Regions from separate parts of the Homo sapiens genome. Here all the other regions are linked to region 2. The links are contacts of gene promoters, found by promoter capture Hi-C in human tissues and cell types (Jung and others, 2019). All regions are on one chromosome and are shown on one strand. Each heading gives the region's core, a stretch centred on a gene start or on the middle of the fragment in contact. The rest is flanking DNA. Distances are from core to core; before and after follow the strand shown.

The links. The method cuts DNA at HindIII sites, captures the fragments that hold promoters and counts their contacts. A contact is called where the count stands out against the background at its distance.
Region 1: a fragment that was not itself captured here is called in contact with the fragment with the promoter of CMTM8 in region 2 in 1 of the 25 tissues and cell types used here (mesenchymal stem cells).
Region 3: a contact is called between a fragment that was not itself captured here and the fragment with the promoter of CMTM8 in region 2, in 1 of the 25 tissues and cell types used here (liver).

Annotation. Positions count from the first base shown.
Region 1 is chr3:31,763,753-31,767,715 of GRCh38, reverse strand. The region is part of intron 4 of OSBPL10 (oxysterol binding protein like 10); the gene reads left to right. Among named protein-coding and RNA genes, the nearest start is that of OSBPL10-AS1, 62 kb to the right of the region's middle. The HindIII fragment of the contact is 3,568 bases long and covers 789-3,963 here.
Region 2 is chr3:32,236,927-32,240,647 of GRCh38, reverse strand. It overlaps CMTM8 (CKLF like MARVEL transmembrane domain containing 8), which reads right to left and starts at 1,968. Exons shown (of 4, transcript NM_178868.5): 1 at 1,529-1,968. The coding sequence starts at 1,675. RefSeq lists a silencer at 1,955-2,164. The HindIII fragment of the contact is 9,285 bases long and covers 1-3,721 here.
Region 3 is chr3:32,587,292-32,591,435 of GRCh38, reverse strand. No RefSeq gene overlaps it. Among named protein-coding and RNA genes, the nearest start is that of DYNC1LI1, 19 kb to the right of the region's middle. The HindIII fragment of the contact is 6,364 bases long and covers 1-4,144 here.

The DNA.
Region 1 (3,963 bases), core at 1,323-3,822, 470 kb after region 2:
AACACTTAATTAGGGTCACCTTGCACTAGCCAGGTGCTATGGGAGTGGGGACATGGGCCTGCTCCCCAGACCTCAAGGCCTTACAGAAGAGAAGGGCAAGTGCTCACGGGAGGGCTCTGAGAGACTTGGGGCACGGGGACTTCTAAGTGGGAGATAAGGAAGGCTTCATGAAGAACTGAGGAAGGGCATTGGAAGCCTGGTAGGACTTTGACCATGAGAGATGGGGAGGAAAAGCTTTCTAGGCAGATGTAACCTGACAGGAATTCAAGAGGTGTCATGTTGCCCAAGTAGGTAGTGTATTTATGAGGAGGCAGGGACAAGATACAAAGCCACCGTTTGTGAGAATTACACACAATTATATTTTTTAGATCCTGTACTTTCCAAGTGGTTATTGCAGGGACCACAGTTGAGTTTTTTTCTCACTGGCTTAGTGATGGTCGTGGGAGAAGAACTTATTCCCATGAACAGAGGGAACTGTTTTAATCACAACTGCATGAGCAAAACACAAGAGGGCTCTTGAAAGAGAGAATTGGCTAATATTGTAGCAAAATCCAGAGCTCCTCAGTGGTAATTTTAATTTCCACAAAGTTAATGAAAGTATAGCCCTCCAGACCTGATATGAAAAAGTAGTATAACGTAGCTAATTGGGTTGTTTTCTAGACTTAGGAATCACCAGGGAAAGGCTAAGCTTAGAGAGGACTGTGGATTGAGCCCTCATCTCTTTTTAATCTCCTCTATAACCTGGCAGATTCTATTGGCTTTTCATTATGAGATTGTACTGCAAATGAAAGAAAGAGGAGGTGGGGTGTTCTGGGCTTGGTTACAGCTGGGTGTTTATCACAGGCATTTATAAGAAGTTAGTACACTTTCAGGCCCTCTGACAGGAAGCTTTGTAACCTGGCATTCATGTCATGCCAGCATTAAGTTTAGAGAAATGCTCCATTATTTGATTAATTGTCTTGGATAAAAGCCTTAACTGATGTTCCAGTTGACCTACAAATCTTGTGAAGTGAGTTTTAAAAGTATTTGTAAATAGTATGTATCCTTATAGCTCATGAATGTCAGAATTCTACACTGGGGCCAGCACAGTGGCTCATACCTGTAATCCCAGCAATTTGAGGGGCTGAGGAGGAAGATTGCTTGAGGCTAGGAGTTCAAGACCAGCCTGGGCAACATAATGAGACCCCATCTCTACCAAAATAAAAATTATCTGGGTGTCATGGTGTGAGCCTATACTCCCAGCTACTTGGGAAGCTGAGCTCAGAGGATCATCTGAGTCCTGGAGGTTGAGTCTGCAATGAGCAATGATTGTGCCACTGCACTCTAGCTTGGGTGGTGATGAAGTGAGACCGTGTCTCAAAAAAAAAACAAAAAAAAACAAAAAAACAAAAAAACTACATTGGGCCAAACATCACAGAGCAGTGGGCAGAGGGAAGACCCTATGTTGAAGTGGGGGATCTGTGTCCACATGGTGTGTCACATGGCCACTGTTTTCCACATCTCCAGTGTCAGCTGAGTGGGCTCAGGCAGGCATGTGACCCAGAGCCAATAACGTAAACTCACTTTCTCTCATCTGAATTAGGAGAAGAAACTAGAGGATTGGGTAGATTTGGCTCCAGCGGCTCTGCTGGGCTTTGTTGCAAGTGGAGGAAGTTGAGTTGAGCAAGAAGAGGAGAGAAAGGTGTGAAAACCAGCGACCATAGAGACCAGGGGATAGAGAGAAATAAGAGACGGCCATATCTCTGAAGGAAAGAAAGAGTAGCTCTTTCAAGTAGTTTCTGGGCACTCTTTCCTGTATCCATGCAACAAATCCCCTTCTCCTTGCATGAGTGTGGGTGGTTTCACTTCTTTGTTACTAAACTTTCTCTGTGACCATGATCAACTAAACCCTGGGAGGTATACAAGGAAAATATGAAACCTTGTCCCCTGACTACTGAACTTCTCAGTCTTGATAGAGCAAGAAAAAAAACCCAAACCTGGTCCTACTTATCCCCAGAAATGGTATTGTACCTCCTTTTTCACTTGCTAATTTTAAAGTCCCACTGGCTGTCACTTAGATTGGGTGTATACATTGTTTTTGTTCAAATGGATCCATCTCATAGTGGCATTGAGACCAATCTTCTTACCTGTCCGAAGGGAGGAGAACAGCCCCTTCCCAGCTCTCAAAGAGATGCCTGGGTGCTCTCCTTTGTATATTCATTCATTCATTCATTCATTCACTCACTCACTCATGCTTTCAGCTGATATTTTTTTGCCCACAGTTTGCCACATCTTGTCCTAGGTTTGGGGAAACAACAGTGAACAGAAGAGACAAAGTGGCACCGAGAGCCTGGTAAGGGCAAGAGAAATTAACAAATTAGTAACATAACACATCAGTAGAGGCTGGGCACAGTGACTCATGGCTGTAATCCTAGCACTTTGGGAGGCTGAGGTGGGCAGATCACTTGCTCAGGGGTTCTAGACCAGCCTGGATAACGTGGTGAAATCATGTCTCTACAAAAAAAAAACAAAAACAAAACAAAACACAAAAATTAGTTGGGCATGGTGGCACATGCCTGTAATCCCAGCTACTTGGTAGACTGAGGTGGGAGGACTATCTGAGGCCAGGAGGCAGAGGTTGCAGTGAGCCATGATCTCGCCGCTGCACTCCAGCCTGGGTGACAGAGCAAGACCCTGTCTCCAGAAAAAAAAAGAAAAAAAGTAGTTAGTTAATTACAACCATGATGTGTTTTATGGATGATGGGGATCATGGCCTTTTGGGAGGATGATGGAAGGCTATCTGGTGAAAACAACCTGTAAGCCGGGGTCGAAGAAGGAATAAAAATTGACTAGGAGAAAAACATGTCATGGACTTCACTGGAAGTTGAGCCTGGAACTCATTCAGATAATGCCTTCTTTATCCCACGATCATATAGATTAAGTTAGAGGCTCTAAGAAATTTGGGATTGTGTGTCCAGAGATATATAATGTGCAGTTAAAATGCTCCACCCTTGCTGGGAGATTGGTACTGGAGAGAAATGATGGTTAAGCCTGAAGCTTCAAGGTCCCAGGCTAAAAAGAGACAAGATCTTTTATTCCTTGAGTGAAAGTAGTAACAACAAACTAGGGGCAATGAAAAGGAGTTCTCAAATTTGCTAGAGAACCGTGCTGGCATCTTAAAACTTCTAGAAGCTTTGGAACTCGATCCTTCTTCCTTCGTTCCTCTTTCTTTATTCTTCCCTTCTCTTCTTCCCCTGTTTTGCCTCCCTTTAATCGCCCTTCCTTTCACTTGCCCTGTCTTCCCATTTCTTCTCTCCCGTCCCCTCTCCTCCATTTATCCACCCAACAAACATACATCAGGCATCTCCTTTGAATAAGACATTATGGGCCCTGCCCAGAAAGAGTTTGGCAGTGAATTAATTGACTGATTCCACCAGCAGGCTGGGCCGTGGAGAGAGATATATGTGGAACTATATTCGTTATAGTGAGTTCATTCTGTGTGTTTATATGAACAGTGATCATGGACTATATACTCTTACATGTACTCTTTTTAAAAGTGCATGCTCAGAGCAGTGAGGAAGTGTGGAGAAGGAGTAGAAAGCAGTTCTAAATGCAGGTGTCTGCAAAGGGCGGTTAGCTCTTTTGCAAAGCACTGTGTATTATATATCATTATTCTGTGTCATATTTGTGTGCCTTGAGGATTACATTGTAAGCAGTTCGTGTGCAGGAATTGTGTTCTCTCTTCTGTAAAATGGTGACTGCAGTGTCATTTACCCAGTGGGGATACAATAAACGTTAATTAATGGTGGCTTATTCCTTAACATAATTTTCCCTTTCAGATTAATGAAGCAGATTCCTGATAAATGCACTTGTCTCTCCAGAGTTTCATTTGCTAAAGCTCAAATGATGTAAAGGATTTGCCTGGAGGTGTGAAATTTTTGCCCAGTTTTTTTTCTTTTTTCAAGTGCCATTTGGAGATGCATT
Region 2 (3,721 bases), core at 719-3,218:
ATTTCTAGTAATGGGATTGTGGGCCACTTACATTTCTTTCACTTTTGTATTTCCTGAAAAAGCGCAGTACACAGAGCATATCGATAATAAATCAGAAAAAAACCCAAAGGCGTTATACTTCATGCCTGGCCCAAATCCACCCCAAGGTAGAAGGCCCATCTCTGTCATTTTAGCTTTTGTTTGCGCTGCTGAAGCAGAGGAGCCTGCCAACTCCTTCATTTGCACAGCAAATATTTGTTGAACTCCTAAAAGCTAGGCCCTGCAAGGCGATTCCAATACCTTCAGCTTTTGAGTCTCCTGAAGTCCTCAATACTCGCTGAGGGAACCAGCTGGGAGAGGAGCTAAGCCAACACTTCTCATACCTTATGTGCATTATGACCACCAGGGGCTTCATAGAGCAGGTCCGGGTGGTATCTGAGACTGGGGGAGCAAGCAAGCTACTTGAGGTACACAAGATTTACTTCAGGTTTCTCAAAGGAACCGCCCAGGTCTTCAGTCACTTCTGCACCATGATGGTGTGCCCATTCTCTAACTCCCACATAGGCTCATTTTCAATTCCCAAATATTTAACAAAAGTCTGTGAGAGATGACAGAGGGGCACTGCTGGGGCAGCTGGAAGCTGTCTCAACTGCTTGCAGTTATGAGCACGGCCCTGCAGAAAGGCAGGCCTGGGTTTGAATCCATGCTTCACCATCCACCGGTGTGATTTACGTCCCCTCTCTAGGCCTTCACAGGGGAGGGTGGTCGTTGGATTACACGAGGGTATGAGGACATCTAAAGGGCTTGACAAGATCCTGGTACACGAAGAAGACTCAAACAGTGACCACCTCTAACTGCTGACAGGACTCCAGTCCTTTCTCAGCTATGAAGGACTGGCTGGGACTTCTGGGAAGATCACGTGAGTTTTCAGCCTCTATGCCCTCCAATGAAGAGAAGAACGCCCATGCCCTGCCTCCTTCCCAGGAATGTTCTGAGCCTAAACCAGGATGTGCACAGCACCATGCAAAAGACCTCTTTGGTCCTAAAATAGGTTATGGCACTCAGATTTTATTCAGTAAAATTTTCCTGACTCACCTCAATGTTACTACCAGGGAGATAATTAGGAAAAGAAAGAAGCCCTTTCCTCTTCCCCTGATCTTAGGAAGCTTTATTTTCAGGGAGGAGGCCATCCACGTGGAGATCAGGTGAGAAAGGCACCAGGTGTCTCTGACACTCAACACAAACTCAATAGCCACTAAGCCAAGCTTCCTGCTCCCAGGATCTGCCGCCGCCACCGAGAGGACCCAACAAGCTGAATTTCTCCCACAGCAAGACATCCTGAGGATCACAACCCTTTCTTCCCAGGACAGCCCGAGTTTCCTGGACCTTGTTTAGAGTCTTTCACTTTGGGAAGAAGGCGAGGCTGAGCAAAAACGGTTCCCTAAAGCCCGCGGGAAGATCTGAGCAGGCTCCATCCCGAGAAGCACGGCGGAAGCACGCGCCGGGGTCCAGCTGAGCCCCCCGCCACCCCCGGCCCGTCGGCACTCACGATCTCGGCCACGATGAGGAAGCCGGGCAGGGTGCGGAGGAACTCCCGGTCGTAGGCGAAGCTGCTGCTGCTGGTGGAGAAGTTCTCTGCGAAGGAGCTGGCGGTGGTGGTGACTGTGTGCGAGCGGGCGCGCTGCGGCTCCTCCATCGTCGAGCCACTGCCGGGCTGGCGCGTCCCCAGGGACCCCGGCGGGTCTGGGGCTGGACGCGCGGCCCTGCGCCCTGGGGACACAGGCGCGGGGGAGGGGAGCGCGGCCCGCGCGGGGCAGGAGGTGCGAGGGGGGCGCCCGCCGGGGGCTGTCCAGGCGCGGCGGGTGTCCCTCTAGTGCGCGGTGCCCCTAGCGCCTCGGTGCGCGGGCTCCCGAGCTGCGCTGGGGCCCTAGAGGAAGAGGAGAGCGAGCGAGGGGAGGCTGCCGGGCAGCCGGGGAAGGCGGTGGAGGCCCGGAGGAGGGGAGGGGGCGGGGAGAGGGGCGGGCGGGAGGCGGGCAGGAGAGGGACCGCCCCGCGGAGGCGCCGCGGACGCCCGCCCTCTTCACCTGTTGCCCGACTCCCAGCGGCGGAGAAGGCGCCGCGTCGCACCCAGGGTGGCTGGGTTGGCAGCCTGGCGGGCGGCGCGGAGGAGAGGGCGCAGGGGTCCTTCTGGCCGTCTTCCGCTCCCCCTCCCGGCCTTTACTTCTGTCAGGCCCCGCCTGGCCCAGGCCCGCAGCCTGTTTCCTTCCACCTGGGCGGGTCGGGGGCTGCGGGCATTGGGGCCCCTTAAGGAAACCCAGGCCTCCAGGGACTCCGCCGCTCCAGGACTCGGCGCGGAGGGAATGACTGAGCGACGACCGAGGCAGGGGGTGATGTGGTACCTCGAATGCTGTGGAAATGGCAGGAATGATGACCCGGCCGGACCTTAGACCCGAGATCGATGAGAGGCCGCCAGCACTGCCCGGGAGACGGCCCGCTCTTCTCCCCCTCCTGCTGCGGCCGCCGCCAGAGCCCGGTGTTATTTCCTGCCCCTCCTGTCGGGAACAATTTGAGGAACCAACTTAATCGCTTGGCTTTGAGGGCGCGACGCTTCCAGGCGCTCTCCGCGGCTCTGTCCCGCGGACCGGTGGAGCCTGGGTGACGGCGCCTGGGCCGGAGGAGGGGAGATGTTTGGGGTCCCTGGCCAGGATGAATCAGCGTAACCGTCCCGTCACCCTCGGGGAAAAAAAATGTTTCAAGAAGGCTTGAAGGGTGTGATTTGTGTAATGTTAACTTTAGGACAAATGAGCTGTGCTTTCCTGGCATGGGAAGGGGATGGGGGTCCTCATTTAGTGAGGCAGTTTGTAACAGGGTCAGGGAAGAACTGAGCTCGGCTGCGTGCGTTTATCGGCTGTATGACCCAGAGCGAGTGGCTCTAGTTTTTGGACCTCAGTAATGCCATCTCTAAAATGCAGGCTTTGACAGATGGACCTCTGAACAAAAAGATTATCTTCCGCTTGGTCCCTCCTTCTATTTTGTGAAAGGGTAGCAAGAAACATTTTATCTGGAAGCCACCAAAAGAAAAGGAAATAATCTTTGGCTATAAATCGAGGGTATCTTTGATTCACAGTGAAGGCATTTCTGCTGATCTGTTCCAAGACAGGTTAAAAACGAGATCAGAAGGGACATTTTCTTCACAGTGTCTTATCAAGTGTGCTGAGAAGAAAGCAAAAACGACAATCTAATAAAATAAAACAAGGAATTAGTGTCTTTTAAGTCTAGGGCCTAGCCAGGAAGACCTCCAGGAGTAAAAGTTAAGGCTTCAAAAGCATGGCAAAGATGTAGATTTGGAGAGATTCCATCCATGTGCATTTGGTAAGCACCTTGGGCTGGTGGGTAAATTCTTAAAATTTAAAATATAGCACTTCTCCCTGGAGCAGTAGTTCTCAAAGTGGTCCTTGGACCAACAGCAGGTAAGTTCCCTGGGAACTTATCAAAAATGCAAGGTCTCAAGCCCCACCCCCAGACCCTCTGAATCAGAAACTCTGAGGGTGGAGCCAGGAAGCTGTGTTTGAACAAGCCCTCCAAAAGACACTGATGCATGCTGAAGTTAGCTGCTGCTTTAGAGAAACTGTTAATGAGTTTGGGGAAATAAGAGATACATACATGAAATGGCTGGAGGAGACTCAAGCATTATGCATGACATTTAGTGAACGTAAAAGACGGAGTCTAGACAACTTTATTT
Region 3 (4,144 bases), core at 291-2,790, 350 kb before region 2:
GGGGAGCTGCTGAGGGAAATTAATTCATTCCATGAAATTACTCTCTGCAAGAACAACCCTGAGAATTGGTCCTGGTAATAAGCAGCCAGAGTCTTGCATTCTTGTCATACAGAGCAAGAACATATAGGGGCATTCAGGGTCCATGGTGCACTGCCTCTCCCAAGAACCTACGGACTCAAAATCTGCATTTTTTTTTTTTTGAGACAGAGTTTCGTTCTTGTTGCCCAGGCTGCAGTGCCATGGCGCGATCTCAGCTCACTGAAACCTCTGCCTCCCAGGTTCAAGCAATTCTCCTGCCTCAGCCTCACAAGTAGCTGGGATTACAGGCGCCTGCCACCACACCCGGCTAATTTTTGTATTTTTAGTAGAGATGGGGTTTCACCATGTTGGCCAGGCTGGTCTTGAACTCCTGACCTCAGGTGATCCACCCGCCTCAGCCTCCCAAAGTGCTGGGATTACAGGTGTCATCTCGGCTCACTACAACCTCTGCCTCCTGCGTTCAAGCAATTGTCCTCCAGAGTAGCTGAGACTATAGGCATGCACCACCACACCCAACTAAGTTTTGTATTTTTAGTAGAGATGGAGTTTCGCCATTTTGGCCAGGCTGGTCTCAAACTCCTGAGCTCATATTGATCTGCCCACCTTGGCCTCTCAAAGTGCTGGGATTACAGGTGTGAGACACTGTGCCCAGCTTCTTTGGCTTTTCTTTACAAAACAAACAAACAAACAAAAAAAAACAAAAACCTTCCAGGAGTTTACAATATAGTAGTAACCTATGTCTCTCTTATGTGGCCCTTTTGCAATGGCATAACTAGTAAGAATGGGCAGTTGATGGAGTCCCACATATAATCAAAAAGAATTATCCTCTGTGATCTGGAGAAGTCTATTGGGCTAAGTAGGAGCAAAGCAAAGCAAGAGACATTTGGTGTTGTAGTTTTGGCTTTTTCCATGGGTGGTAGAAGGTGGATATCTTGGGTCTGGGAGCCATCTCGATGGCCTTACATCCTACCCAAGGCACTTCTCAAGGCAGGGCAAAAGTAAAATTCCTGCCTCAGTGTAACCAAAGTCTGTTCTCTTAAACAGTAGACTGAATTCTGAGTAAAGATCATGATGCCCAGAGTGGCTACCTTCCCCTGTTTCTCATTCCTCCCTCTTTCTTAACTCACTCCTTGAAGGAATTTCAGTCAGTATGCATGTAGGGCAGATGCTGTGAAAGGGAAAGGTGCTATAGTAGGTTCAGTTAGAGCAAGTTGTAGCATTGAACTTTAGCTAGTGTCCACTTACCCCAATTCCAGGCACCCAAAGCACCCCGAGCCCATGGTTCCCCATGCAGTACTCCGGCTGCATTCCCTGCTTCCCTCTGACTGTTGGAGAAAATACCAATAATGTTGGGAATGATGCCTTAGGTCCTTCTACTCCAAATGTGATCCACAGACCAGCATTATCTGGGAGCTTGTTAGAAATGCAGAATCTCAGTCCCAACCTCTGATATTCTGAACCAGTATCTGCATTTTAGCAAGATCCCTGGTGATTCGTGTGCACACTGAAGTTTGAGAAGTTCAGCCTTAGCTGTGTTTGAGCCAAACTGTGTTTGAAGTTTGAGAAGCTCAGCCTAACAATGTGGTCTTTAAATCACATATCTAACTCTTTGCTCATTCAGCCACCTTATGATTGTAATTTGGTAGCTGCAGCAGAAATGCCTACCTCAACATCCTTTTCATTCCCTTCTTAATAATAGAACCTCCACTTTATTTGGGGTAACAATGTGCCTGGCTAAAAGACTACACTTCCCAACTGCCCTTGTAGCTAGATGGGGCTATGAGACTAGCTCTTCATCAATGAAGTGTAAGTGGAAATATTTATGGGACTAATGGAAAGTCTCTTGAAACTCAGGGGATATATCCTTCTTTCTTCTTTACTCCTTATTGCTGCCTGGGACATGGACATCATGAGTGGCTTCTAGCAGTCATCTTGGACCATGGAGTGACCTTGAGAAAGGAAGTTACAGATTGAAGATGACAGAGCAGAAGAATAAAAGCTTATATTTCAATGACACATTGAAATTACTATATCGGTTTGGACTTGCATATGCCCAGACTTCCTTTATGGGAAAGAGAATTGTCTGTCTTGTTTAAACCACCATAATTTGGCTTTTCTGTTTCTATAACTGTTATTTGTGTGTCTACAACTTACTGGCAAAAATAATGCAGATGTTCAGCTCCTCAGCAAGGTGTCTCCTCGTAAATCAATAAAATAGAATTCTAGTTTACACATCTGAACTCCACTAATGTGAATCTGTCCCTGAGAGATGACCTGGTGACTAAGTGCTGGGGGGAAGGCAATAAGGGTGCCACTTGGGGAAGAACACTTGGTGGCCAACTGGTTTCCCTCTCAGGCAGCACACCTTCTTGGTTTTCATTTTCTTCTAACCTTAATATGTACAATTAGCAAGAGATAGAGGGAGAACAAAAGGCCTACCTAATTTAAGACTGAATAATCCAAATAATCCATTGTTCAATCTCTAAAAATCAAGTTATTTATAAACTATTTCCTGAGTTAGGAAGTTAAGTGGTCTCTGTTGACGTTATGTCTTTGAATGTTCTAAGTAGAATATTCATCTCTTTTGAAGGCTATTGTTCTATTCTTATTAAGCATGCAGAATTTCACTGTAATTCTGACATCTTAAATCACTTCCCACACTACAGGGATGAGTGTTAATAATTAATATTTGTATTATGTTATCTTATGAAGCCCTTTCAAATACTCAGTTTACTTAATCCTCAACAGCCCCGTGAGTAGCTATTCAACTCATTCATCTATAGATGAGGAAACTAAGAGCCAGAGAGATTAAGTAATGTACCCAAAGATACACAGCTCAGAAGTAGCATTCTTTCAGTCTCCTTGCTACCATGCTACTCTGCTCTACTTCTGTGCAGAGACTCACATTATGAGGCCAGAGTTTATGTGGACAGGACATATTGGGGACATGGCACATAGAAACTTTTTCAATCACACCATGTAGACATTGCATATTTATACATGCAACTGTCTATTTATGGTTGCAGGTTACACACTGGCTGCAAGCTGGTTTACTTTTTCTTTTCTGAAGAGCTAGAAGGCACAAGAGATTATCCACATTATCCCCTCATCCTTCAGACTCCAAAGCCTAGAGAAGTGAAATGATTTATCCAAGATCTTAATTAGGTACAAGTCCTAGACTATACACCCCAAGTCCCTTAACTCCATGAGAATGAATGTTCCTTCTAAAACATCATCATGATTCTCAGTAAATTCTGAGCAGATCATGGATATTACAGCAATGTTTTGGCCAAAATGAAAAAGTATCCCTGGTTTGATAGTTGTATCAAGATGCAATCCTGGTCCCCAGTTAAATCTGGCCCTGACTTCCAGTCATTAACACCAAAATGAATCATTGGCTTTTCTGGGACCTGCATATTAGTACAGGAATTAGTTCACTTAGAAGCCACAGCCTGCACAGCAGCTCTTGTCTTAAAAAAGCACATAATTACCTTTGAAATACTTTGGATTTTTTTGTTTTGTTCCATTTTTGAGACAGTATCTCACTCTGTCGCCCAGGAGTGCAGTGGTACAATCTCGGCTCACTGCAGCCTCGACCTCCTGGGCTCAAGCCATCCTCCCACCTCAGCCTCCTAAGTAGTTGGGATTACAGGCATGCCCCACCACAGCTGGCTATTTTTTGTACTTTTTGTAGAGATGGGGTTTCATCACATTGCCCAGGCTAATCTCAAACTCCTGGACTCAAGCGATCTGCCTGCCTCAGCCTCCCAAAGTGCTAGGATTACACTATCATCTCCTTGATAGCAGTGGGTTAAAAGGATAAACTAATCTACATTATCATTTATTTATTATCCGGTACATATATTATTATTCATTTAGATAACATATGGCTATAATTCATTAAATGTGTAGAGGGCCCACAGGATATGAATCTAGTAACAATATTTTGCCTTTATGACAAACCACAGAGGAGGCAATTTGAAGATGATACTTCTTTTCATACTTCTCTGATTACAAACACTATAATTTCATGGAAGGCCAAAGAATTAACAAAGTCAAAATTTGAAATAATATATATATTTTTAAATAGTGAAGGGCAGGCACA